4 separate regions of the Homo sapiens genome follow, and regions 1, 3 and 4 are each linked to region 2. Evidence: promoter capture Hi-C in human tissues and cell types (Jung and others, 2019). All regions are on one chromosome and are shown on one strand. The core of a region is centred on a gene start or on the middle of the fragment in contact, and the rest is flanking DNA. Distances in the headings are between cores, read along the strand shown.

Evidence for each region. The method cuts DNA at HindIII sites, captures the fragments that hold promoters and counts their contacts. A contact is called where the count stands out against the background at its distance.
Region 1: a contact is called between a fragment that was not itself captured here and the fragment with the promoter of NRG3 in region 2, in 2 of the 25 tissues and cell types used here (mesendoderm cells and thymus).
Region 3: a contact is called between a fragment that was not itself captured here and the fragment with the promoter of NRG3 in region 2, in 3 of the 25 tissues and cell types used here (dorsolateral prefrontal cortex, hippocampus and neural progenitor cells).
Region 4: a contact is called between a fragment that was not itself captured here and the fragment with the promoter of NRG3 in region 2, in 2 of the 25 tissues and cell types used here (dorsolateral prefrontal cortex and hippocampus).

What each region holds. Positions count from the first base shown.
Region 1 is chr10:82,053,029-82,056,905 of GRCh38, forward strand. The region is part of intron 1 of NRG3 (neuregulin 3); the gene reads left to right. It overlaps LOC124902472 (a long non-coding RNA gene), which reads left to right. Exons shown (of 2, transcript XR_007062219.1): 2 at 1-2,027. Among named protein-coding and RNA genes, the nearest start is that of NRG3-AS1, 180 kb to the right of the region's middle. The HindIII fragment of the contact is 4,528 bases long and covers 33-3,877 here.
Region 2 is chr10:81,873,248-81,877,254 of GRCh38, forward strand. NRG3 (neuregulin 3) reads left to right here and starts at 1,947. Exons shown (of 9, transcript NM_001010848.4): 1 at 1,947-2,916. The coding sequence starts at 2,094. LOC124902549 (a long non-coding RNA gene) reads right to left here and starts at 1,271. Exons shown (of 2, transcript XR_007062377.1): 1 at 1,102-1,271; 2 at 125-254. RefSeq lists an enhancer at 2,896-3,658. The HindIII fragment of the contact is 10,350 bases long and covers 1-4,007 here.
Region 3 is chr10:82,037,603-82,041,685 of GRCh38, forward strand. The region is part of intron 1 of NRG3 (neuregulin 3); the gene reads left to right. It overlaps LOC124902472 (a long non-coding RNA gene), which reads left to right. Exons shown (of 2, transcript XR_007062219.1): 2 at 1-4,083. Among named protein-coding and RNA genes, the nearest start is that of NRG3, 160 kb to the left of the region's middle. The HindIII fragment of the contact is 4,896 bases long and covers 1-3,802 here.
Region 4 is chr10:82,087,682-82,091,897 of GRCh38, forward strand. The region is part of intron 1 of NRG3 (neuregulin 3); the gene reads left to right. Among named protein-coding and RNA genes, the nearest start is that of NRG3-AS1, 140 kb to the right of the region's middle. The HindIII fragment of the contact is 3,099 bases long and covers 1,095-4,193 here.

The DNA of each region.
Region 1 (3,877 bases), core at 1,047-3,546, 180 kb after region 2:
TTTTATTCATTCATTTATCAAATTAATTATTCATCAAATGTTTTAGGTTACTCACCTATTTAACATTTTCTTTGCTCCCATGTATTCATGTATTTCATTTGATTATTTTTTTTTTTAACATTTCAGTGTTCCAAAAATTGGGAGACATAGGCAGTAATATATTTTTTAGGAAAATACTGGTGGTTGTAATAAATAATCTGATATTTCAGTAGTCCAACACATTAAAAGTTTGGTTCTCATTCATATAAAGTCCAAATCAAGTGTTTATTAAAGGCAGAAGGATGAGGGTTGGATTGTGGGAGTCGATGGTTGGAGGGGCCCAGATCCATGTAATCATTCAGAGATCCGGGCTGAGGAAGATCCATAAATTCACTGTGATCTCCACAGCCAGCTGGAAGATAAGAGCAGAAAGAGACTGAGGAAGAAGTAACTCCTCCTTACACACTCGGTTCCAGAAGACACTCAGATCAGTTTCACCTATATTCCATTGTTGAGAATTCATGGAATGACATTGCTTGGATGCACTGGGCATTGGGAAATGTGGCTTCTTTCCTAGCATCATCTCTACAACTTTCAGGAGAGCATGAGTTTTTAATGGACAAACAGGTGAATAAAACACACTCAAATTCCTGGCCTCTTGGAAAATACATTTTAGTTGGAGGAAACTGATAGTAATACTATAAAATCATAAGTGAAATAAACATTTTTTTTGTAAGGACATAAACATTGTGATGGTATGTAAAGCCTGGAAGAAGTGCAGGGAGTGTTGGGTGTGCAATTTTAAATGGATAGTTTGGAAGGAGCTCAGTGGAAAAGAGGTATTTGAGCAATTATTTGAATGAGGTGAGAATGTAAATCATGTGGAATGTAACGGGAAATTATTTAAAGCTGCAGCGCAGCAAATGGAAAGCTCATGGGGTGGAATCATGTCTGATATCTTTAGGGAACAGCTGGTGGCTAACCTATTAGGAGCAAAGTAAGCAAAGGTTAGAGAATGGTAGGATATGAGGTCGGAGAAGTAATAGGGTTCTAAACATACAGAGGCCTTAAGAGTGACAGTGAGAATTTTGGCTCTTACTCTGAGGTACAGGGGAAGTCATTAGAGGGTATTGTACAGAGGAGTGAAGTGATTTGATTTATGTTTTAAAAGGATTACTCTAGTTGTTGTTCTGAAAATAGACTGTGGTGCAGTAAGGCAGAAGGAGGGAGACCATTAGAAAGCTTTTTCAATAATTGAGGTGAGAAATGATGACAGCTTAGACCAGAGATATTGAGAAGTGGCTGGATTCTGGGTATATTTTGAAGGTGGAAGTGACAGGATTTGCTCATGGCTTAGTGGTAAGGTGTGATGGAGGAAAGGAGTCAAGGATGACTCGAAGACTTTGTGCATAAAAGACTAAGTGGAAGAGTAGGATTTTTATTAATTGAGATGGGGAGGACTGTACAGGATTCTCATTTAGATGTGGGTGGAGCACATAAGGGTCTTGATTTGGAATGACTTTTAGATATTTAAGTTGAGCTGACAAGTAGGCAGTTAGATATATGAATATGGTATTGGCATGGGGAATGGAGGAATAGATCCAAATATTGAGCTCCAAGGGACTCCAATATTTAGAGGCTGGAGAAGTGGGGAGGAACCAGCAAAGGGGAATGAAAACGAGTGACAAGAGAAAGAAAATCAGAAAAGTCTAGTATTGAGAAAGCCAAGGAAGAGAAGTGTTTGAATTAAGAAAGAATGAGGCTGAGCCAGGAGGATCTCTTGAGCCCACGAGTTAGAGACCAGCCTAGGAAATACAGTGACACCCCAGATCTATAAAAAAAAATAGCCAGGTGTGGTGGTGTGTGCCTGTAGTCCCAGCTACTAAGGAGGCTGAGGCAGGAGGATTGCTTGAACATGTGAAATATAACGGGAAGTTCAAGGTTACAGTGAGCTAGATCATACCAGCACACTCTAGCCTGGGTGACAGCACAAGACTCTGTCTCTCTTAAAACAAATCAAAGAAAGAAAGAAAGGAAAGAAGGGAAAAGAAGAAAGAAAAGAAAGGAAAAGAACAGAAAAGAAAAGCAAAAAGGAAGGAAAAAAGAGCCACAGTCTCAGCTGCTGCTGACAGGTCAAATAAAATGAAATAGAGAGGTCATTGGTGATCTTGATGAAAAAAGAAAAAAGAAGCCGAGCGCGGTGGCTCACTCCTGTAATCCCAGCACTTTGGGAGGCCGAGGCGAGCAGATCGAGGTCAGGAGATCGAGACAATCCTGGCTAACACAGTGAAAACCCATCTCTACTAAAAATACAAAAAAAATAGCCAGGCATGGTGACAGGCGCCTGTAATCTCAGCTACTCGGGAGGCTGAGGCAGGAGAATGGCCTGAACCCAGAAGGCAGAGTTTGCAGTGAACCAAGATTGCACCACTGCCCTCCAGCCTGGGCGACAGAGTGAGACTCCGTCTCAAAAAAAAAAAAAAAAGAACAACAACAAAAAACAGTTTTAGTGTAGTGATGAGCAAAAACTGACTGGAGTGAGGTAAAGAGAAAATGGAAAAAGGCAAATTGGTGGTAATTATTTAATTTTTTTATCTAATTGTTTTGAGGATTTTTTCTATAAAAGGAGCAAAGAGCAAAGTGATAGGGTGATAATTAGAATAGGAAGTAGACACAAGGAAGGGATTTCAAAATGGGAAAAATGACAGCACATTTGTAAAGCGATGAAAAATTTACAATGCAAGAAAGAGAAGGGGAGTTAATATGCAACAATCTTATGTCGATGAGAAGGGCTGGAACAGGCACTCTAGTGAAGGGACTGGAGATAAAGGCAGGTTTATCTGTAATGGTTCAGATTAAGGAGTGAAATGCATGGTAGGCTTGTGTGAGTTCCCTTTGAATTTCTCCTTTTGTTCTTAGGAAATAAGAAGCACAGGTCATTCAGAGGAGAAGATGTGAAATCATTCTTTAAGGGAATAGGATAGTGAATGGAAAACGGAAATCTTCCCAGGCAGTTTCGAAGACCACTTGAGGCTAATGGTCATGTGTGGAAAGCAAAATCATTCAACCTTGTGCCTTTTAAAAAATTTTGTCCCATCATAGTACCTGTGTGGGAGTGTGACTATAGCATAATGGAGAATTTTGTTTAGCGAGTTAGACATTTTTTCTTGGTCAGTACAATGGCATGAGAGATGGTTAAGGAGTTTAATACTTGAGCAAGAGAATTATTAAAACAGCATGCTGGAGATTCTAAGCTTGGTCAGGTGGGTGTGATGACTTTAAAGAGTTGAATATGGTAGTAAAATGGTGAAAGGATTAGTGTATTTGAAAAAAAAAATTAGTGTTATGCTACTGAAAGGAATGCCATAGGCTCACTCTGATAGGAATCTTTGAAGCTAAAAGGATGGAGTGGTTAGTTGTTGGTAATGAGAAGATTTAGATACAATTATAGAAGTGAGGGGCTAAAGATGATTGCAGAATAAAGCCACAGGAAATCAAAGAATGGAGAGGCTGAAGTATTGGAAGGATCGTCAAACTTGTTTAAATCTGAGAATTTTGACAGGAACAGTGTAGATGTGACACAGAGCCAGGAACTACAGTCTTACAGCTATGACATTCCATCTGGGATTTTTCAAGTATCTCATTGAAATTTTCTTTTTTAACAGTCTAGTTGGGGTTAGCTCTGAGTTTTTGTTTAAATAGAAATGTTTTTATTTTGACTGTAGCTTTCAAAGATGCTTTTCTGGCTAGAATTCCAGGTTAACAATTATGTTCTCTTAGCATTTTCGAAATATTGTTCCATTGCTTTCTGACTTTTGTGTTTGCTATTGAGAAGCCAGTAGTCTAATTATTGTTTATTGTGGATGACTTTTTTTCCCACAGCTGTTTTTTAAAACTT
Region 2 (4,007 bases), core at 697-3,196:
ACAATTTTTGGAACCATAATTCAGCACTACTAGATTAAGGCATGTTCCATCAAACTAAAAATCAAAAGCTTTCCTATGGGGAAAGTCTCAATGTTATAGCTGAAAGAGGTGACAGCCGCATTACTGCCATCAAAAATAATTTATTAACCTTGTCTGTGCAAAGTACTCTGGTAGGCACCAAACCCCAGGGGCTTCCTGTTTCAATGCATCCTCTGCTCTCTGCAGTCTCTTCAGTGTAACGTTTGGCTCTCCCCCTGTGAATAAAATGGATACCTTGAAAACTTCATCTTTGTGGAGACTATCACAGGACAAGAGAATGCGGGCTCCATCATCCACGCCAATCAGACAGTGCTGGGGGAATGTATTAGAAAGTTGCCTTTCTCAACCTCATATTCTTAACGCTTGTAAATAAAAACCCCTCCTCTTCGGTTTTCACTTTAGACCAGGAAATCTGGGGAGAGTTGGCAAGCAAGGTTTTGCACTGTCGGCATATGTCATGCTAACACTGGCTCTTTGCCCCTTGCCTCGGCAGGTACCACACAGCGCTGGAGAAATAGGTACACAGGTGCCTCCCCAGCCAAGGGAAGAAAGCAGTAACGGAATTTGGGAGTCCAACCCCAAATCCTTTCATATTTACCTCTCACAAACACTTGCCTTGTAACGTGTGTACCTGTGCGTACATTTACAGGTAAAGACAATATTTTAAGGCAAGTTCACATAAATGGCTTGGAGATATCTGACAGGTCTGATTATACAAAGGTCTTCTGCTCCACCTGCATCTCTCAGGAACTCAGGCAAAGGTGGCCTTCCATCCAGCCGCACCGCCATCCGGCAGGGGAGGGCACAGGCACCCTCCCACCCGCATCCGCCCCCGCCCCCTCGCCCAGCAGCGTCAGTCTCTGACCCCACTGGATCCGTACAGGAGACGACTCACAATCGGTCGGAAGCTGCTTTTGCCCCCCCACCCCACCGCAAACGGGGGTTTGCTTGGATCATTTATCTATCTTGTGTGCATTAAGAAACCAGCATTAGCTGCTAGTGGGAGGCGCTACTCTGCCCGAATCCCAGCCCGCCGCGGCGATTCTGCACACACACACGCACCAGCCTGGCAGCCAGAGCCCGTCTGGAGACGCCCTCAGCCCGGGGTCTGCGTTCCCCGGGACCCCCGACGCAGTCTCCCGCTTCCGTCCCCCACGCTCAACCGGGCAGGGCGCCGGGGCGTGATTTCCGATCCTCTGCCTGCTTGTTGGGTCCCTCGGAGGCGGGTCAGACCGCACCCGCCGCGGGCGCCCGGTGCGCCCCCAGCCCCTGGCTCGCGGCGGCGACAGCGGCGCTGTTCGCTGGAGTTTGACTCTCCGGCGGCGGCGGCAGCGGCGCGCAGCAGCGAACGGCTGGAGCAAGGCGAGCCGGGCCGCTAGCCCTCCGCGCTGCGCTGGGATTGGTCTCTCCAGAAGAGTGCTGGCCGAGGGTTGGCTGCGGGCCGGCTGAAGAACAGGTGCACCTCACCGCCCGGGCTCGCGGAGCAGCCGCCGAAGATCGCGGCGGCCAGGCAGGCCCTCTGTGTCGGAATGCGGGTGGCGGGCACCCGGCACCCCGCGACCGGCCGCCGGGGCCACTGAAGGCGGCGCGAGGCCCAGGCGCGGCGCGAGCGGGCGCCCCAGGGAGCGGGCTGGGCGCGGTGCCCCGAGGATGTCGGCGCTCCTGGAGCGCACGCAGGCGGCGGGCAGCAGCAGCAGCAGCGGGCGCGGGGACCCGGCGCGCAGGAGGCGGCTTGGAGGGCTGCAGACGCGCCCCGCCGCTCTCTGACCGACCGGAGGCGCCGGGGGCCCGTCTCGCCCCTCTTCCGAGCTCCTTACCGCCCCCTCCCCGGCCCCGTCCCCTCCCCCGCTCCTCTCCTCCCCGCCCGCCGCCCGCCTCTCGGGGGGAGGGGCGTGGGGGCAGGGAGCGGATTTGCATGCGGCCGCCGCGGCCGCTGCCTGCGCCCGAGCCCGCCGCCGCCGCCGGAGCCCGCGCCCGCGCCCGCGCCCGGCCCGCGCGGCCCCATGCCTCTGCCGCGGCCCTCGGGGGGGCGAAGGTGAAGACCGGCTCCTAGGATGAGTGAAGGGGCGGCCGCTGCCTCGCCACCTGGTGCCGCTTCGGCAGCCGCCGCCTCGGCCGAGGAGGGCACCGCGGCGGCTGCGGCGGCGGCAGCGGCGGGCGGGGGCCCGGACGGCGGCGGCGAAGGGGCGGCCGAGCCCCCCCGGGAGTTACGCTGTAGCGACTGCATCGTGTGGAACCGGCAGCAGACGTGGCTGTGCGTGGTACCTCTGTTCATCGGCTTCATCGGCCTGGGGCTCAGCCTCATGCTTCTCAAATGGATCGTGGTGGGCTCCGTCAAGGAGTACGTGCCCACCGACCTAGTGGACTCCAAGGGGATGGGCCAGGACCCCTTCTTCCTCTCCAAGCCCAGCTCTTTCCCCAAGGCCATGGAGACCACCACCACTACCACTTCCACCACGTCCCCCGCCACCCCCTCCGCCGGGGGTGCCGCCTCCTCCAGGACGCCCAACCGGATTAGCACTCGCCTGACCACCATCACGCGGGCGCCCACTCGCTTCCCCGGGCACCGGGTGCCCATCCGGGCCAGCCCGCGCTCCACCACAGCACGGAACACTGCGGCCCCTGCGACGGTCCCGTCCACCACGGCCCCGTTCTTCAGTAGCAGCACGCTGGGCTCCCGACCCCCGGTGCCAGGAACTCCAAGTACCCAGGCAATGCCCTCCTGGCCTACTGCGGCATACGCTACCTCCTCCTACCTTCACGATTCTACTCCCTCCTGGACCCTGTCTCCCTTTCAGGATGCTGCCTCCTCTTCTTCCTCTTCTTCCTCCTCCGCTACCACCACCACACCAGAAACTAGCACCAGCCCCAAATTTCGTAAGTAAACACTGTGTCTCAACTATGATTTACTACTGAGTTTCCCTTCTGCCCTCCTGCTGTCTTTTTCCCTCGCCGCCTGTTTTCTAGCAAGCCCCCTCCCCCATCCCAGGTTTGGGGCAGAGTGAGAGCTGATTAAAACTGGCCACCAGCGGGGAAGAAGGTGCCAGCCTGCTCTGGTTCTGGGGGGGTGGGGGCGTGTAGGAACGGGAGGGAGATTGTCAGGCTCCACTGGCCCCACTTTAGCGGGTCCCAAGTGAGAACAGATCTCCCAACTCCCTTCAAAGGGTTAACGCGAGTGCGATCCCTCCTCACTGCAGACCTGCTGGCGAGCTGCCGGATCCCGCTCCAGTAGAGGGCCAGGGAGGGAGAGAGGGCCTTCCCGAAGGCACTGAGCCCCTTCTCCGCCCGCCGGTAGGAAGGAAAGAAAGCAAAGCACATGCAAATTGACCGACGATAAACCACAAAAGGAAGTTATGTCCTTGTGTGGGGTGACGAGTTGATGGAGATAATGGTAGAATGTTGCTGAGGACGCTTCCAGCAGCCCTGACCTGGGCAGGAACCAGAAAGGGTTAATTAGAAGCCACTGGGAGACTTGGGGAAAGGAGGCGATCCAAGGCAAAGGGCTAAACTGACCTCCTAGCCTGCCTGTGGCCATTCCAAGGTGTAGACATAGATTCTGTGACCGCCGAGAGTGAGTTAACTAGGAGGAAATATGAAGGGAGCCCTGCAGAGCTGCCACCTCTAGGGTCCTGACGAAGGAGGAGTTTTTTTCAGCCCTGCCAAGCCTTTGCTTTTGTTCCGTTCCCAAAGGTGGGGTGTGAACCTTATCTCCTCTCCCTCTGTGCCTGAAAAATATAGACGAGTTGAGAGTTTTCTGCACTCAAGGGTGAGAACATCCAACCGTTTGGAAACATGTCACCGTTAGAATGTAGCATCTTCAACCTGGGCTCAGTATGAGCCAGTATACCCAAAGCATGATAGCTTTCTGTTTATTTGTATAGAAAGTGCGTATTTTCTCAACATTTTTATAAATGTTGTAGGTGACTAATTGACCTCCCACCCCAACCCCCACCTTGTTCTTATTCAAA
Region 3 (4,083 bases), core at 105-2,604, 160 kb after region 2:
GTCTAACAGCATTGGCAGGATCTCATATGAATGAGCACAGTACTAGAAGACATCACGATGAGGCCTTATTCCAACTTCAGGTTGCAGTGTGTTTTCAACATGGCACTTAAACTTGGTGAACCTCAGTTTTCTCTTATTTTAATTACAATATTCATGGCATCTGCCTCACACGGGCTTTCCAGGGTTGTTTTGAGAACTAAGGGGAAAACTGTGTGTTCAAGAATTTGGCAAACTGGGGACATAGTGTGTGTATGCCATGTTTATGAATACTCCTAAGTAAGTCAACTTCGTAAGGGTTGGGTCTCTGTGGCATACAGAAGGTGCTCATGAATGCCTCAAAAGTCGTGGAAAGGAATCTTAGTGTGGGGAGGGGGGAGAGAGAGAGAGAGAGCAAAAAAAGAAGAAAGAATTCAAATCTCGGAAAACCCAAATATGCTTTTGAAATTAGTAATCTACACCCAGTAAAAATCTTAAAATCTTGCTTTTGTTCATTATGGGATACCCAAGAGATTTAATCTTTCACTAATTGTTTAAAAATCTTTTATAAACTGAAAGCACACCCAACATTAAGAGTTCTGAGCATTCTGAATTACTTACATTTGTAAAATTCCTTTTGAAAAATGTAAACCAAGCTTATTTCATAATGGTTTCTTCAAATCACTTTTTCCTATTGTAGTGTCCTTTACTGTCTATACACGGGATCACATGTTAATAGTACCAACTGTCCTGAGCCCTTTCCAAACACCAGGCTGTATCTAACCCTTTATCATAAGATGTCTCATTGACTTCTCATTGCAACCCTAAGATGGTCATTTTTACCATTTTACCCACTTTGCAGTTGAAGCTGGTTGGAGCAGTTACATAACTCAAGAAAAGGGGCAATGCTCATAAGTAAGAAGATGAGGACTCAATTTCAGACTACTAGAAGTCACAACCCATGAGTTTTGTTTTGTTTTTTCTTCAAAGAGCCATTCAAGACTCCATTTGCCAAGCCTAGACATGGCTTTTATGGAGTGAATTTGATCTTTATTAATAGCTGGAGGCACTGCATAAAAGGAACTTCTGGCCAGAGCCTAGTGGTAGTTAATCCCAGTGACCCAGCCTCATTCATTCATCTGTTTGCTTCTGGGACTACCACCTGAACATTTGTTTTGTCTTGGCTTCTTCCCTGCAGCTTGATACTTCACATGTGTCTCTGTTCTGTCTCTCCCAGTTCATCAAACTGGTTTCTGTCATCCTCTTTTCCATGTTTGACTTCTTGAGCACTCCACTTGTCCTCCCTGATCAACACTAGCCTAGTGAGGAAGAGAGAGGCCATGTATTCTATTTTCAGGTTGTTTTATGAAGCAGTTAGGCCCCACTGAGCTCAGAGGAGTGTGCTAAGGAAGTCTATGGAAACAATGCACAGTTGTATAATTTTGTTTTGAAATGTGTTCTGATAATACTTTTTCAGGCATCAAAGTTGCCTAATCCCTAAAAATATACAGGTGTATTATATAAAGAGGATAAGATATTATGCAGCTTAAACTCCTGGAAAAGTTCTCATTAGTTATATTTTACAACCAAGTTCCAATGCGAAGCAGCCTGTTTGTGAGTGATGATTAGCGCTGCCAATGCCCCAGCAGTAGCAGGAAAGAATGTCATGAAATGATCCAACTTCCATTAGAAAATAATGACTGTCTTGGCTGAGCAACATTTTTTAAATTAAATACCAACAATTCCTAGTAATCAGAGAGCCTATTAGCCATGAAATTCGATTTCAGTATCAGAGACTATTCACTTACCAAATGGGAGCCAAATAATTGTGAGTGGAATTTACAGTGCCGCATTGGGGATAGTAGTAAATATTATGGAAGTGGCACTAGGGTATAGCTTCAGCTCTGGGGAAATGTGGCATTTTAAAATTTCAGTAGCAAGTTAGTGTGATGATTAACAGAATGCAGTCATTAATTTCCAAGGCATGATATTTTCTCTTTAGTCATTTGAGAACCCAAGGTCTTACAGTGAACTCGTCATTAATTGCTACTTAGCTTCACTGGGCTTTTCCAAATGTCCATCAGCTCCCTTGAGATAAAATCAGGAATCTTTGCATTAGAATTAGCCTTAATTTATGGAGGGAGGTGTTCTTGATCCCAGGAGTGATCTTTAGGAAGACTGGAAAATAAGTTTATCATTTCTGCCAGCTCAGGTCTAAGTATTCTCTCTTCTTTTCACATGGTCTCTCCTGACGCATCACTGCCCAGGTCACCTCTTCAATCCTTCCTCATTCTTTGCAATCCCTGTTCAGGGATATGGGAAGAAAGTATTCACTATCTACTTCTGCCATGAATTGTGTCAAGTAACCCAGACACAAATAGTGGAAGTATATTATTAAGCAGGCCCATGTAGATTAAATACTGCTCCACAGCACAAAGTTAATAAGGGTTAAGAAGGAGGATTCATACCTAGGTCTATCCTCAGAACACTTGTTCTTTACATTATTGCACTATGGAAATAAAAGTTGATAAAATTTTAGGTGAATACATTGCTCTGCCATTTTCTAATTTCGTTTTAATACATTTTGAAGGAAACTTAAGCTTGGAAATTAATGTTTTCCACATGCAGCACTAAATTCCACCACCGTCTTTCAACAGTACAAATCCAATGGAGGAACTTTCAGTATTTTTCAAACATATATATACATCCATGCATATGTATACATGTATAGTATACACAAATATACCCATATGTATACACATGCACACACAAACACAGACATATATACATATATATACACTTATATACATATATGTTATATATACAATATATATGTAATATGTAATCTTTCATAATATCTTTCTTTTTTATCCATGAGGACTGAACTTTGCCTAACTGAAAAATCTCTCTCTTGGCACCCATATATGTGTCTCTACAAACTTGTTGGCAAACTGTATACTGGCACATGCATTCTACAAGACCACCAGGCTCAAAAGCAGAACATTTGGCGGATAGAAACTGCAGTGGCAGGCTTTCTAAAGAATAAGGCAGGAGAAGAACCCCACAGAGATGCATGGAGAAGATAAAACAATTTGTCTGTTGTCACACCCTAGGAAGGGTCAAGCCAGGCATTCAATCCATACTTAGCTGGTCCCAAAGTCCATATTCTGTCCACTACATTAACCTGCTGCTGTCAGAAAAAGAAAATGACAGATTTATAGTTCTCCTCTCCCTGCCCCAGTATATGTCAGCATTTTTAGGTATATTTGAACAAAAACTGAAGTTCATGCATGTCAATTGTTCTTCTAAAAGCCTTCTTAGTGGAAACATAGGGAAACATGGCCTTTAGACATGCCCAAAGTGAACACATTTGTTAGAAAACTCAGTGTTATGATGTATCATTTAGAGTTAACAGGTAAAACATTGCATATCAGCTGATTTTAGGAAGGACCAAATGCCATGCATATTTCTGCCATGAGTGCTTTTTACTTGCCATAGTGGGCCATAAGTAATTAAACTATGTCATTCGCATTTGAAAATACCATGACTACAGGCCTTACAAATAGTCTCCTTCCTAAGTTCTGTGGCTGTTAGAATCTGGGAATTGACATTGTTTCTTTTTTTGTAAGGAGTCCTTATGGCTTTCAGATCCCTTACTGGAATTCTTGCCACAAGAGGGATACTGAGCAGTGAAGGTTTACAAGTCTCCCTTGCGCTTGTGCATATGGATTAACTTCACTCTTTTAATACCTTACTTCTCCATCAGTTCTAGAGCCCACTGTGAGCTGAGGTGAAGGCACATTTTCCCTCCCAACAGGAAAGTGACCAATATTATATTTACTTCCTGGGGCAAATGGCTTTCTGTCAGCTTTACTTGTAAATCTGCCTCATTCTACTGGATCTATCTCTAAACCTAATTGCTTGCATACTGCCCAAAGCCACCTTTGGGAGCTATTTGTGAAGACTTTGTCTCATTTGTAAGCTACAAAGTCTCCAAAACACATATTTTCCCTCATAATCAGAGGTTGTTTTTGCTTTGGTCAGGAACAACATTCCTCAAAATATCTGTAGGGGGCTAATAAGTCACAAAGTGTTCCTGAGTAGACC
Region 4 (4,216 bases), core at 1,394-3,893, 220 kb after region 2:
GATTTAACATTCACCAGGGAAATTATGAAATACAATCCATATGAAATATGTAATCCTTAGCATTAGGACAGCTTCTTTCTAAACCCTGACTTGTCCTCACCTCTCAAAGGTCATGTGTAATCCTAGCCACTCTCAAATGTTTTTGTCCACTCCAGGTCTCAGCCTATTAGCACATCCTAGTTCCCTGGCCATGTTGATTGGTTCAGAACTAGTTACAGTATCCAATTAAAAACAATGAGATTTTTTTCTTGAGGTATCTGAGAAAAAGATGTTCACATTTCCCGGCTGGATCCGAAACCTCAGAGTAGGTAGGGTCTGGAGAGCCTGTCCTCAACTTGCTCTTCCCCAATGCCTGGGATGAAACAGAGTAAAGTGAAGGAGAGAAACTGATTCATGATGATTACATGGTGCATTCTACTTCCCTGTAGGATGTAGAGAAAGACGATTCCCTACTTTCCTACTTCTCAAGTTATATGGGTCAATTGATTTCTTTTTCTTTTACATCTTTTTCTTTTCTCCTTCCTTTCTTCCTTCTTAATTTCCTGCCTTCAAAGCTTCTTTCATTTCTTTTTTTATTTAACTTAAGCCTACTTGGACTGTGATTTCTCTCACTTTTCACTAAGAGTACTACTCAATACCCAACTTGAGTTGATCCTGTTTCTCTTTGGTACAAGAGTACAATTGTAGTTTATTCATATGTTCATAGTTGGACAAATTAATGTGTCTACAGCCCAACGGCAAACTATTGATATAAATGCAGTATCTCCTGTTTTTCTAAATGGTGTCCAGATTTGTAGAGATACATTTGTCTATGTTGTGAGAATTGAAAGCCTTTCATGCATAACTTGAATGCTCTGTTTATGTAAGTAATTTGGCATTTCTTTTCATGTGCAAAGGGTTCCTTTGATTTTGAATGCACAGGCTGTGACACTAAGCAGAGAAGATGAGAATCAGACCGGGGAAGAATAAATTTCCTTTGTATATGACTATACAAAGTTTTAAAACTTTATCTCCCTCAGCTCGGTATTTAATAGACATTGAAGACAGGAAGTAGGGAGCTGTGACTGGCTGTACTCGACTTTTCCCCAATACAGTTATTCAATTTCTATATATGCTACCCTGACAGGCTTATTTCAATTTTAGTCATAAACAAAATTTACGTTTTGACTTGAAGTGGGTCAAAATCAGTGTCAGCATTTTGTTTTGTAATATGCCCTTCACATCGTTGTACCTTTGCCATAATCAGCCAGAGTCAGAGAAAATTATCATCCCTCCCTAGTGGGTGCTCAACTTAAAAACCAGCAGAGAAGATTTTTTTTTTTGTAAAGAATCAACAAAGTATGAAAATGAAATGTCAAATGATGAAAATTATATGATTCAGGTTTGGGATGCTGGATCTTTATTTTCAGGGACTTATTTCAAATCCAGGTACAAGTCTACAGTTAGTTTTAGGAATTTTAGTGAGCAATGGGCAAATAAGTTAATGCTAGTAAAAGATTGCCATATTACTGCATTTTGTTATTGAAATGCTAATTTATAAGTAGCAAATTAGCATTTAAAAAGACACAATTTTTGTTAAAATAGTGGCCTTTCTTACATTTTGTATTAGAGCTTTACTTTTTTTCTGCTTTAAGCTTCACAATGCAGTGGCAGCTTGTTTCACTTGAGCGTTCTTATTGATTATAACTGCTGGTATGAGGCAATCTGTGCTTCCCTTGTGTTCTGCCTAACAGAGGTTATTTCTTTGCATGATATGGAGATGGATATGGAAGAATCTGGGCTGTCAGGGAAGGAAGTGAGAGCCAGAGAGGAGAAAGCAGCCAGGGGGTGGAGTGGTGAGCCTAATTCCCAGCTCTTAGACAATGAGATAGCTAGGAGCAAACCTCTGTTCATTCTTGCCTGACAGTTGTCATGGCAACTCTCAATCCAGTGACCTCTTTTAGTTCTCTAATAAACGAGTTGAATATTTGTTAAGTTTTTGGTTTGTTTGTTTTTAGTATCTAATTCTCTTTGAGATGATCAAGCTGCAAACTGATTCCATACCTTATTGATTCAGACTTTGTAAAAAGATATTATGCAAAGTTGAAGATGTGTAGATTTAAACATTTCAATCTTTCTTTTAAGAGAATTTTCTCCACAATAGGAAGGCATGTGGGCATTTTATGGTCTTAGCCAACATAAGCATTACACTTATGAAATTGGTCTAGCCTTCTAGGCTCCTGCCCCAGTGAGGTCCCTCCTCAGTTCTGTGATCATAGGCAAGTCAGTTCCCTGCCCCAGCTCTTTGCCCTCTTCCATGGCATGGTGGGGTTGAAATTGACAGAGTCACATTTCCCTTCTGACTTTAAAGCTTTCTGACTCTGAATACATAATATATAAGTGGGTTTCTCTTTTTGACATTACATACTGTAGTGAAGTACAGTCCTGTAACAGGCATCTGCAGACTACAGACGCACGTTACCATGCAGATTGCTATTAATGTACAGTTCTCTCCATTTAATTTGCTGTGGTTTCCAAGACTACTATATTTTTTATTGAGAATACTAATAGCCTGTGTGAGGTATGAAATGAATACATAGTTTCAATAGGACTGGGTTAGTGACTGTTGGAGAAAATATCTTGAATTAGAGTACACTGTTTTATTGTTTATAGCTATCAGAAAGTTCTCCTGTGAGGACAATAATATAATGATCTCTATCCTACTATGTGCTACACTTTATTTAATTGGTTGAGATGAACATATGTTGATTAAGAATAAATTTTTAAAATTTTACTAAATTTGAGAAAAGCAACAAAGTATGAGGAAAACATATATGCCAACAACTGAAAATAAAAAGCAGGTGATTCCATTGTTTTTTAATGAAGCACCAGTCATTTCCGTTGGGATTAGAATCCATTGTGCTAGGAAAGTATTTACAGCATGATGCTGCCATATTTGAATAAAGAAGGGACGAGTGGATTGCCTAAATGGGGTTGAAACCATGTCAGGAGCACATTACAACATAAACCAGAACTCAGCTGAGTATCCAATAATGTTAATGGGGGCAAAACAAGACTTATTACCATTTGAACTCTATATCTGAAATGGGAATCCGATAACATGGCAGAAATAACGTTTGGTTTGGGACTAAAAACATCCTAGAGTGTATCTAAGGGCTTAAGTATTCATGAATTTTGTTTGTACACTTACATTATGTGTTGTGTTAGAAAAGGCAGAAAAAGGTAGTGCTTCATGTTTGGTTGCAAAGACTCCTGCCTCAGCCTTGTTACACAGGAGCATAACGGTGCAGTGTGAAGCATTTAAGACAAAAACGTTTTAGAGTCAGATCTGAGTAAAATCTGAGATTTCACACTTCCAGCAGTGTAACCTAAGACTAGTTTGTTTTTTTTTTAATTTCTCCTGAGGCAAAATTTTATTTTTTTCTCTTTCTTCCATTTCATTGTAACCTTTTAAAAATTGTGATAAGATATACATAATATTTTTCAGTGCAACCATTCAAACATGTGGCTTATCCATTGATCGGTAGTCTTAGATACATTCACAATGTCGCGTAACTATTATCACTGTCTATGTCCCCGATTTTCCTATCATCTCCAAAAACAACTTTGTAACCATGAAAGAATAACTTCTCCTTCTCCTCCTCCTCATGCCACCTGCAGCCATGGTAACCTCTATTGTACTTTCTGTCTCTATGAATTTGCCTGTTTTAGGTAGCTCATGTAAGTGTAATCATATATTTGTCCTTCAGTGTCTGGTGTATTTCACTAAGCATGGTTTCAAGGTCCATTCATGTTCTAGCATTTTTCAAGATTTCCTTCCTTTTTAAGGCTGAATTGGATTCCATTGCATGCATATACCACACTTTATCTGTTCATCTGCTAAATAGTTGATTTGGTTGCCTCTGTCCCTTGGCTGTTGTGAATAATGCTCCCAAGACCAGCTGTACAAACAGATATTCGAGTCTCTGATTTCAATTTTGTGTGTATATGCCAAAAAATTGAATTGCTGAGTCATATGGTAATTCTATTTTTAGTGTTTTTGAGGAACTACCATGCTGTTTCCACAGCAGCTGCGCCATTCCTGCCAACAATGCATAGGTGTTCTAATTTCTCCACGTTCTCACCGACACTTGTGATTTTGTGTTTTTATTTTAAATAATAACCATCTTAATGGATGTGAAACAGTAAGTTGGATTTGCACTTTCCCAGTAGTCAA